3 separate regions of the Homo sapiens genome follow, and all the other regions are linked to region 3. Evidence: promoter capture Hi-C in human tissues and cell types (Jung and others, 2019). All regions are on one chromosome and are shown on one strand. Each heading gives the region's core, a stretch centred on a gene start or on the middle of the fragment in contact. The rest is flanking DNA. Distances are from core to core; before and after follow the strand shown.

Evidence for each region. Contacts are between HindIII fragments. The study calls those that stand out against the background at their distance.
Region 1: a contact is called between a fragment that was not itself captured here and the fragment with the promoter of BICC1 in region 3, in 1 of the 25 tissues and cell types used here (bladder).
Region 2: a fragment that was not itself captured here is called in contact with the fragment with the promoter of BICC1 in region 3 in 2 of the 25 tissues and cell types used here (H1 embryonic stem cells and dorsolateral prefrontal cortex).

The regions. Positions count from the first base shown.
Region 1 is chr10:59,168,796-59,172,352 of GRCh38, forward strand. No RefSeq gene overlaps it. Among named protein-coding and RNA genes, the nearest start is that of CCEPR, 5.9 kb to the right of the region's middle. The HindIII fragment of the contact is 6,010 bases long and covers 1-3,557 here.
Region 2 is chr10:59,193,251-59,196,899 of GRCh38, forward strand. All of the region lies in intron 1 of PHYHIPL (phytanoyl-CoA 2-hydroxylase interacting protein like), which reads left to right. Among named protein-coding and RNA genes, the nearest start is that of PHYHIPL, 18 kb to the left of the region's middle. The HindIII fragment of the contact is 5,532 bases long and covers 1-3,649 here.
Region 3 is chr10:58,510,728-58,514,162 of GRCh38, forward strand. It overlaps BICC1 (BicC family RNA binding protein 1), which reads left to right and starts at 2,145. Exons shown (of 21, transcript NM_001080512.3): 1 at 2,145-2,606. The coding sequence starts at 2,417. LOC124902427 (a long non-coding RNA gene) reads right to left here and starts at 1,325. Exons shown (of 2, transcript XR_007062147.1): 1 at 933-1,325. The HindIII fragment of the contact is 7,114 bases long and covers 1-3,435 here.

The DNA.
Region 1 (3,557 bases), core at 139-2,638, 660 kb after region 3:
TTGGACAATAACTGGTTCAAGTAAGATAGTTTTTAAAATCAAGGAGATTTGGCAATGTAAAAAGAGAAAGAAAAGAGAGTCCGGAGAAAGAGAAAGACTGAAGAAGCTAGAGGGGAGAAAAATAGGAAGCTATGTCTATCCTGCAGTACACAGGCACTGAATGAAGAGCACAGATGAGGGAAGGAGAAGTGACAAGTTACCGGAACCTACTGAGCTAAAGATAAGAGCAAATGAGCAACTTCATTCTGCCTTCATTTTTCCCCCCAGGAAAGAGAGGGTGGGATCATTTTAAATTTTAAAAAATATTTTGACTGATAAAAATTACATGTATTTAGGATATACCTTTGGGTATATACCCAACAGAGGGATTGTTGGATCATGTATTATATTTTTAATTTTTGGAGGAACCCTCATACTGTTTTCTACAATGGCTGTACTAATTCACATTCTCACCAACAATGTGCAGGGTTTTCTTTGCTCCACAGCCTCTCCAACACTCGTTATCTTTTGTCTTGTCAATTAATAGCTCTTTTAACAGGTGTGAGGTAATATATTATGGTTTTAATTTAGATTTTTCTGACATTTAGTGATTTTGAGCATTTTTCATATACCTGTTGAACATTGGTACGTCTTCTTTTGACAAATGTCTATTTAAATCGGGCTGTTTTCATAAATCGGGACTGTTTCCAATTGAGTTGTTTGCGTTTGTTATATATTTTGGTTAGTAGCCCCTTTTAGGACGTATGGTCTGCAAACAATTTTTCCCCATTCCATAGGTTGTCTCTTCATTCTGTTTATTGTTTTCTTGGCTCTGCAGAAGCCTTTTAGTTTAATGTAATTTCATTTGTCTATTTTTGCTTTTGCTGTTTGTGTCTTTGGGTTTATGCCCCACCCCCCCCCGCAATTACCAATGTCATGAAGCTTTTCCCGTTTCCTCCTATTAGTTTTATAGTTTCAGGTATTTAAGTATTTAACTCATTTTTAGTTGATTTTTCTATGGTGTGAAATAAAGGTCTAATTTCATTTTTCCACATGTGGATATCCAGTTACCCCAAAACCATTTATTGAGGAGACTGTCCTTTCCTTATTGTGTGTTCTTGGCACCTTTGTCAAAAATCAGTTGACTAAATACATGGATTTATTTTGGGTCTCTATTCTGTTCCACTGGTCTATGTGTCCATTTAATGCCAGTAACATGCTGCTTTAATTACTCTAACTTTGTAATATAGTTTGAAATCAGGAACTGTGATGCCTCTGGCTTCGCTGTTGCTCAAGACTACTTTAGCTCTTCAGTTTGTGTGTGTGTGTGTGTGTGGTTTCATGTACATTTTAGGATTGTTTTTTCTATTTCTGTGAAACGCCTTTGGAATTTTGATAGAGATTGCATTGAGTCTGTAGGTTGCTTTGGACAGTGTGGATATTTTAACACTATTAATCTTTCCAATCTATCAAGGTGGGATATCTTTCCATTTACTTGTGTATTTTACAATTTGTTTCATCAATATTTTACAGTTTTCATTGTACAGATCTTTCATATCATCGGTTTAACTTACTTTAGGTATTTTATTCTTTTTGATGCTATTGTAAATGGAATTGTTTTCTTGATTTTCAAAAAGTTTGCTGTTTTGTTGCTGTTGTATAAAAACACCACTGATTTTTGTATGCCAACTTTGTATCCTGCACCTTTACTGAATTTTTAAGTTCTAAGAGTTTTTTGGTGGAGTCTTTATGATTTTCCATATATAAGATCATGTCATCTGCAAACAGAGATAATTTTTCTTCCTTTCCTATTTGCATGCCTTTTTTCATTTTCTTGCCTAATTGTTCTGGCTAGGATTTCCAGTAATATGTTGAATAGAAGTGGTGGGAATGGGCATTCTTATTTTATTCTTGATCTTAGAAGAAAAGCTTTCAATATTTTTTTTTTTTTTTGCGACGGAGTCTCGTTCTGTTGCCCAGGCTAGAGTGCAGTGGCGTGATCTCAGCTCACTGCAAGCTTCGCCTTCTGGGTTCAGGAGCCATTCTCCTGCCTCAGCCTCCTGAGTAGCTGGGACTACAGGCGTCCACCACCACGTCCAGCTAATTTTTTGTATTTTTAGTAGAGACGGGGTTTCACCGTGTTAGCCAGGATGGTCTCGATCTCCTGGCCTTGTGATCCACCCACCTCAGCCTCCCAAAGTGCTGGGATTACAGGCATGAACCACCAAAAGCTTTCAATTTTTCACGATTAAGCATGATATTAGCTATGGGCTTGCCATACATAGTCTTTACTGTGTTGAGATGCATTCCTTCAATGCCTAATTTGTTAACGGTTTTTATCTTGAAAAGATGTTAAACATTGTTGACTTCCTTTTCTGCATTTACTGATATGATCATATGGTTTTTGTCCTATAGTCTGTTAATATGGTATATCATATTTATTTATTTGTATGTTAAATCATCCTTGTGTTTTAAAATCCTCAATACATTAAACCATAAAGATAGTCTAAATATGAAAGTTCTCAGTTTTTAAGAAGTTATGAAACTATTTCCATAAATTTGTACTGTAAAATTAACCAAATATGCTTTCTTAATGTCGTTTTGGTGTCCTACAGTAATAATATCCTAACTTTTGGGGGTGCTTTATAGTTCGTAATAATACTTTTATATGCATTATGTTACTTGATCTTCACAAGTCCCAATACTTCTTGAGTCAGGACAAACAATTTAGAATATTTGGATTGCTTTCAACTGTGTTTCTATTGATTATGAGTTTTCCTTTGCCCTTCCATTTACAATAGGGCTTAGGAAAAGTTTCCATAGTGTTATGAGAGGAAATAAGATGCACTCATTTATTATGCATTTTGTGGAGTTTGTTTCTGTTTGGTTTTGGTTCTTGGCACCCTCTGCGAGTCATAAAATCCTTAGTTGTGCCAGGGGTTGTGGGTCATTTTATTATGAATAAGATAGACCTATGGACTAGCCTACCAAAAGGACTGTGTAGCCTACTTTGATAAAATCCTAGGCTAGCTGGAGCAATATAACTAAATACATTCGAAGTATCGGAGTTCACTAAAATAATTCAGCAAATTGTCCTAAGTATCTTCTCTTTGCAAATACTATAATATGTGCTTAAAATCTACAGTATCACAGGAGAAATAAGAAATGTTCACAGAAGTGATACAGGATTTTTATGTCTTTGCAAGCTCAGAATATGTGAGCAGAGCGATATTATTGTCAAAAAAACTAATGGGCTCCTGGGCTGCATTACAAGATGTCTGGCACACACAACAAAGATGGTGTTACTCTACTGTGCTTTCTTTTATATTCTTATTATATTTCCACACCTGGTGTGTTTACCTATGGACTCAGAAAAATTGGAGTTATCTAGAAGAGAGTGTGTAGAGTGACAGAGGGACTCAAAACAATGGGATATCACAAACATTTGCAAAAACCGTGAGTATTTAGGCAGATATTTGAATATATATGTATAATAGGAAGGATTATTATTCTGTATCACGAACAAATCGGAAAATTAAGGCCTTTGTAGTGCTCTTATAGGAGATATGTTTGGGCTC
Region 2 (3,649 bases), core at 410-2,909, 680 kb after region 3:
TACAATTAACCTAAGCTCTGTGCTTGATAGATTTCTCCCCCTTATTTTGACTGACAAGAGAACTAAGTGTATGATTATCTGTGCTTACTGTAGAAATACACTGGATTAATTTTTTCCCCTTAAGCAACATAATCTGTGTTGCATAAAATAAATACAGTGCATAAAATAAATGAACTGGTGGAACTCAAATTAGCAGAAAAACAGTGACAGTGAAGCCTAAAGAAAAATTAAAATCTTCAGCAAATCTGTGTCTAAGGCTTTCAAATTGAACACATATGTCCAAGATTTTCTTTTTGACCTTGAACCTACTAATTTTCATGTTTACTAGGGTATTTGTTGAGTGCTAGGCTACAATAAGACATAGTCTCTTTTTTTAAACTTATTTTTCTTGCAGACTCTTTTTGTTTAAGCTTAGATAAACCTTCCATTTTAATAAATATGGTTTTTTAGTTTTTGTATAACATTTTCAAGCTGTGCTAAGGCTGAATATTTGAGCCTATTTCTATATATTTTCTTCTGGTGTAATTCAGTATATCCAATGTTAATTTATGTGGTGCTTGTTAGCTTGATACAACTTTTTTGGCTGTTATTTTTGGTGATTAAAAAAGGAAGCCCTAATGACTAAAAAAGCAGTGGTTCTGGAATTTGCTGTTTATACTACTTGTTTTGCTAAAAGCTTTACATATTTACATTCTAATGATCAAATTTACAGAATTGAAATTAAGCTTAAAATAATGATAAACGTTCCAAATTCCAAATACAATTTAGCTACTTCTTCTAGAACTTTTGTTTTGCACTATGTATTGTAGAAGTATTTCTTTACCTATATGTTTTTTTTTTTTTTTTTTTTTGAGGCAGTCTTGCCCTGTTGCCCAGGCTGGAGTGCAGTGGTGTGATCTTGGCTCACTGCAATCTTTGCTTCCCAAGTTCAAGCAATTCTCCTGCCTCAGCCTCCTGAGTAGCTGGGATTACAGGTGTGCACCACCACACCCAGCTAATTTTTTTGTATTTCTAAGATATTTATTTTTCTAAGAGCTTCATATGGATCCACCATTGAATGTTTTCCTTTGCTACCCTCATAATAGTTTCAAGAATGTTTTCCAATTTCTTTTCCTATAGTGTTAATACTTTTCTATTTTAATTTTCTGACATAGAAACACCACCTAGTTTCACTCTAATATGATAATATTTTAATGAGAATTTTAAATATATTTCCCTGAATGCATGCATAGTGCTATTTAGTGCAGATAATGTGTGTGTATTTATTTTCATTGCACTGTGAAATGCTGATGTGCCATATTTTAAGGAAATCTGAAATATCTAAACTTAGAAAACACATTAATCAGGGAATAGTTATTTTCCCTGCAATAGTGTTCTCTGTCAGTTCTGCAGTGTTCTTCGTTGTTTCTTTCAGAAGGATTTGACAAAAAGGCAAAATGGCAGTGAAATGTGATACCAACTAATTTGTCTTAAAACAACGGTTTCTTAAGTTATCTCTGAAATTTTTATGAGAGGAAGTATATGCTAGACATTGGAAATTCAAAGATCCAGCATTTTTAACTTCACCTATTTATAGGCCATGTCAAAGGTAGCTAAATCGGATAATTTATTGACAATTTTAATAGCATGCTAGACAGCTGAATTTCTGGCATTTACCTGTGAGTGTAGAAAGCTTGTTGCCCAGCATTTCTGTCAATGTTTCTTTATATTTTATTTGAGCATACAGAATTCTTGTGAAATGTCAAAAACATTATTTTTAAGTAAAAAATGACCCCTGAGAAAGAAAAGTGTGGAATATAAGAAAACAGAAAGGGGGAAAGGATTTGTTAAAAGTGTTTTACAAAATATTTGCACTGACTAATGTTATTATATTAATTATGTAATTTAAGGTATTGTTTAATTTATTTTGGTGCTAGAATTTAATTGCTTTTAAAATGACTTTTATTCTCACATTATCATTAAGAGTCTGTGAATGCATTGTGTAGGGGATGAAAATGTCTTTCCTTCTCATCTTAGGTTCATGGCTGAGGCCACATAACAAAAGACTAACAAGAGAAAAGCATACAAATTTATGTAATATAAGCTGTGCATGACGTGGGAGCCTTCATAAGGAAATGAAAACCCAAAGAAATGGGTAAAACCTATGTATTTTTTAATGTTAGGTTTGATGAAGAGTGGACAGTCATGGAGAAGTATAATTGGAAGACAAACGCGTATGATTTCATGGTAATAAGCTGGTGGGAACTTCACAAGACTTGTTTCTTCAGATTCACCTCTGTGTCCTATGTCTTCAGAGATAAGGATATTCTTTTCCTCCAGGTATAGGGAGGCCATCTCTCCAGTGAAGGTCTTATGACCTGCCTCAGGGGAGAAGGGTAGGAGAAGGAGTGACCTTCCTGCTTCTGTTGTTTTCTCAAATTCTTTCAGCTGAAAGTATTTTAGGGTACCATGTCTCGAAACCCATTGCTTACTAACATTTTTCTGTTGTATTCTACTACTTGGTAAATTATATGCTTTAATTGTTTTTACATATGTAAAGACTTTGAAAAGTATCCTTTGTAAATGCCATGGTTATATTGTAATGGTCTTCAAGTGATGTTTATGAACTCCAGAAGGCATAATAGATAATCAATTGGACCATGGAATAAAGTAATAGAACTTTTGTTAATGTTTATTTTTATATTATCTAGAATAAGAAAAAGTTTTATTAATGTTAGCTATAGAGCTTAATACTTGATATATCAAACTGTCACATATACTCTATGTGCATGAGGTACATGTGTATAATTGGTATATGCTTAGTGTTTTGTACATACAGATAGTGATGTACTTTCCCAGCCTGATGTACCCATTCTTGTGTGATACCTTTTCCAACTGTGATAGCCCTTAAAACAAAGTATCTAAATAAACTGAATTTAGAATTGGTCATTGAATTGCTGTGTCACAAAATGTTAAACCAAGTTTATCAAAATAACACATATTCATATATTTTTAGTAAAATGTTTTTATTCTGAAGTAGATAAAAATAAAATATTTAAAATTATTTTGTATTTTATAATTTTAAATTGCTATTTTGCCCAGTCTATAATGTACATAATATATTAGTATATATATATATGTATAATTTATAAAGAAATGACTGCACTTATGAGTACACTGTCAACATTTTTTTTTTTTTTTTTGAGATAGAGTCTTGCTCTGTTGCCCAGGCTGGAGTGCAGTGGTGTGAATCTCGGCTCACTGCAAGCTCCACCTCCCGGGTTCACGCCATTCTCCTCACACCTCAGCCTCCTGAGTAGCTGGGACTACAGGCACCCACCACCACGCCAGGCTAATTTTTTGTATTTTTAGTAGAGATGGGGTTTCACCGTGTTAGGCAGGATGGTCTTGATCTCCTGACCTTGTGATCCGTCCGACTTGGCCTCCCAAAGTGTGGTATTACACGTGTGAGCCACCGCGCCCGGCCAAGTACACTGTCAACATTTTTTATGCAGGGGTATGAGATGAAAAAAGTTTTAAGAATAGATTTGTATTATATTCTATTTTTGTACGTCTTGCTTTACACAGCAAGGTATATCTGTAATAAATAAATCCACCCAATGTATTCAAAGATGGATTTCATTACACAATTATATACTCTTTATTGTCA
Region 3 (3,435 bases), core at 895-3,394:
CTTATTGAGAGCCAATATAACTTATTGGCTAAGCATAAAGCACCTGAAGCCTAATTTTCAAGAGACTGCCTGGGTTCAAATTCTTATTCTTCAACTTAGTCGTGCAACCTTGAGCAAGTCATTTTACCTTTTGTGCCTCAGTTTCCTCAACTCTAAAATGAGGATAATTGTAGTATCTACCTTCAGGGATGTTACTATGATCAGATGATCATTTGCAGGGATGGCTCTTCCTTCCCTTGCCTAGTTAACTTCTCTTCCAACGTCTGTTCTGAGTTAGAGTCACTGTTTCGAGAAGCCTTCACTGACCTCTCTGACTGAATCCAATTACTCTATCATAGGTTTTCTCATATCTTGAGTCTCTTGTTTGTAATGCTTACTGCGGGCATGATTTTATATTTGTGATTTATTTTTTGGTCAGTATTCCTTCTCATTAGAATTTCAGCTCCAGGAGGGAGTACAGGGATGTGTCTGTCTTTGCTTACTATTCCTTGGGCTTAACAGTGCCAAGTACATAGTAGGGTCCCAATAAATATTTGTTGATAGAAAAACACAGTAAATGTCCCTGATGGAAAACAGTGGGAATGCTCCTACATAAACCCTTTGGGTGCTGAAACTAGTGCCTTGGATAGAAATTAACAGTAATTAACAAGTTTATAAAAGGAACACATGGTGGTGAATCAGAGCAGTTAAGTGTGCAGATGCTCTCAGTTCTTCAGGAGGTGACTCTGGGCAGGAGGGGTCTCCGCTCAAAAAGGTAAGACTTTATATAAAGACCCACAGACCTGGGTCTGATTAATTGGCTGTATTATCTGCTGCTGGACAACCTTAGTCAAGTTACTTTATTTCCCACGGTCTCAGTTTCCTCATCTGTACCCATCACAGGGTCAATTCCTGTTAACTAGGCAGCTGAACCTGAAATAATTTTGATTTACCTTCAGCATATTCCATGATTATCCAGAGGCCTGTGCCAGTGATATGGCTCTTCCTACATGTGAGCCAGGCAGCCTCCTTCTGTGGCGCAGTGACAAACTGCTATCCCCATCATTCCTCCCCGCAAGTCTTTGTACTTTGGGTCATAAAATAATAGGCTATGAATCTGTGTGAACTGGGAAAACAGAGTTCCAAGGGCACACCCAGTACGAGCGAGTCTCCTCTTCCCCCGCGCTTCATATCCAAGCTTGACAGAGGCCGTGGGTGGGCTGGCCCTCGGCAGTGAGGCTCAGAGGTTACTGGCCGTCATCTGTCAGAGACTGACCTTGAAAACAGAGAAAAGCCCTCAGTCCCTGACAAGACAGCCCTGCCCACGTGCCAGCTGGATCCAGCTCGCCAACACAGCGATCTCCGAGCCCCTTTTCTACTTAAAAAAAAAAAAAAGTCTGCTGAGTCCATTCCTTGAGAATCACAGAGAAAACAATTCCTTCCTTACTCCATTCAAGAAAAAAAAAAATTCCCTTTCTCAGAATAAAAAGAGTAAGCCTCTTGTCCACCTCTCGTGCAGCGGGCCACTTTGCTGGGAGGAGACGAGGTGTCTGGGTTTGAGCCCTTCCTGGAGGTATGAACTACATGCGAGCCACGTCCATGGCGATGCCTGCGAAAGACGGGCATGATTTCTTCTCCAAGCCTTCTTTTTCCTCTTCCTCACGTTCGAGCTTGTGGAACCAACTGGGGCTGTGAGTTTCAGGGTGTAGGGTATGTATGTAAACAGCGGAATTGTGTATGCGCTTAGTGTGCGTTCAGGACTCTGCTGTGCTTGAACTTGGCGTGTTTGTGTTTGTGTGTTTGGAGGATTATGAGAGCATGTAGGGGGAAGAGATTTGTATGTGTAAGTGCAGAAAAGTAGTAGTGTGTGTGATGTGTGTGTGTAGACAGGAATTACGTGGATACTCCATGTGCGTTCAGGAGTGTGTGTGTTTGAGGAGCTATGAAAGTGCATGTATGGAAAGGATTTATACGTGTAAGTGCAGAAAGTGGCAGTGTGTACGTGGTGTGTGTGTGCGCGCGCGAGTGTGTGAGCGCCAGGGGCCGCCCGCCCGCCGCGGCTCCCCGTGGGCTGGCCGGGCCAATGAGCGCGCGGCTGTAGGGGCGGCGGGCGGGGAGGGGGCGCCGAGCCCTGCGGATGGAGGCGCGGGCAGCGCGGCGCGCTCATTCCGCGCGGGCGTTGCTGGCGGGGGGCGGCGCAGCCACTGGACCCGGACCGGGGCCGCGACCCGGGGTGGCGGGTGGCGTGGGCGGCGCCCGGGGCTGGGATGCGCCGGGGGCTCAGTGGCGGCGGCGGCGTTGGCGGTGGCGTCGGCGGCTGCAGGGGGACGAGCTAGCGCCGCGGCGCTGGGAGCCAGTTGAGCCCGGCCGGCGAGCGGAGGCGGCAGCGCAGGCAGAGCGGCGGCGGCAGCGGGAGCCCGAGCGCTGCGCGCCCACCATGGCCGCCCAGGGAGAGCCCGGCTACCTGGCGGCGCAGTCGGACCCCGGCTCCAACAGCGAGCGCAGCACCGACTCCCCAGTGCCCGGCTCCGAGGACGACTTGGTCGCCGGGGCGACCCTGCACAGCCCGGAGTGGAGCGAGGAGCGCTTCCGCGTGGACAGGAAGAAACTTGAGGCCATGTTACAAGGTAGGCATCCCTCGTGTTCTCGGACTCTCCGACTGAGCCTCTAACTCCTTTTCGGACATCCCCACCGCGCGCTCCGGCGCCCGCTACTCCAGCCTACGGCCGGCCGGTTTAGCTCCAGGCCCGCTCCCCCGCGGAGCCGGAGGACACCCAGGGACTGGAGACTTCGCGGGACTCCCCACCCTTCCACGCCTCTCAGATTTCCAGGCGCTGGGGGCCCTGTGCGAACTTGACTGGCTTCAGAAAAGCCGAAGGCCGAGTTTGTACTGGCGCGCCCAAGTTGCGTTCTGGACTTTGGAGATGCCAACTTTAGCCCGGACACCTGGGCTGTGCCATCCGGACCACTCGGGCCGCACAGAGTATGCGTGACCCTCCCCATTCCCTGGCAGCCTCGAGTTCTGTCTCTCTCCGTCTGTTTCACTCTCTCCCCTTGTCAGTATCCACTTCCTCCAGCTGAGGGGCCTTGTCTCACTATTGGGAAACGCTCTGCAGATGTCAAGGCTTAAGACAGGAGCTCCCGCCCCCACCCCTGTGGTCAAGGAGGGCCAGGATCGGGGTGAGCAGCCAAAGCGAGGGGGGAGTGTGGAGGCAGTGCTGCTGTGTTTGAGGACAGTGTTCATCTCTTGACAGGCTTATAAAACACATCTTGAGTTACATTCAGTCCATAAAAATCTTCCTATGCTATGGGTGTCTGACTTTGTCTTTCACAACTTAGAATTATTTTTAACTCTTTAATTTCTTTGGGACTTTCCCAGGTAGAAAATCTTCAACCATACTGGACCGAAAACAGATTCTGATTTATAATACGAGTGTTGGAGTGAACGTCAAAACG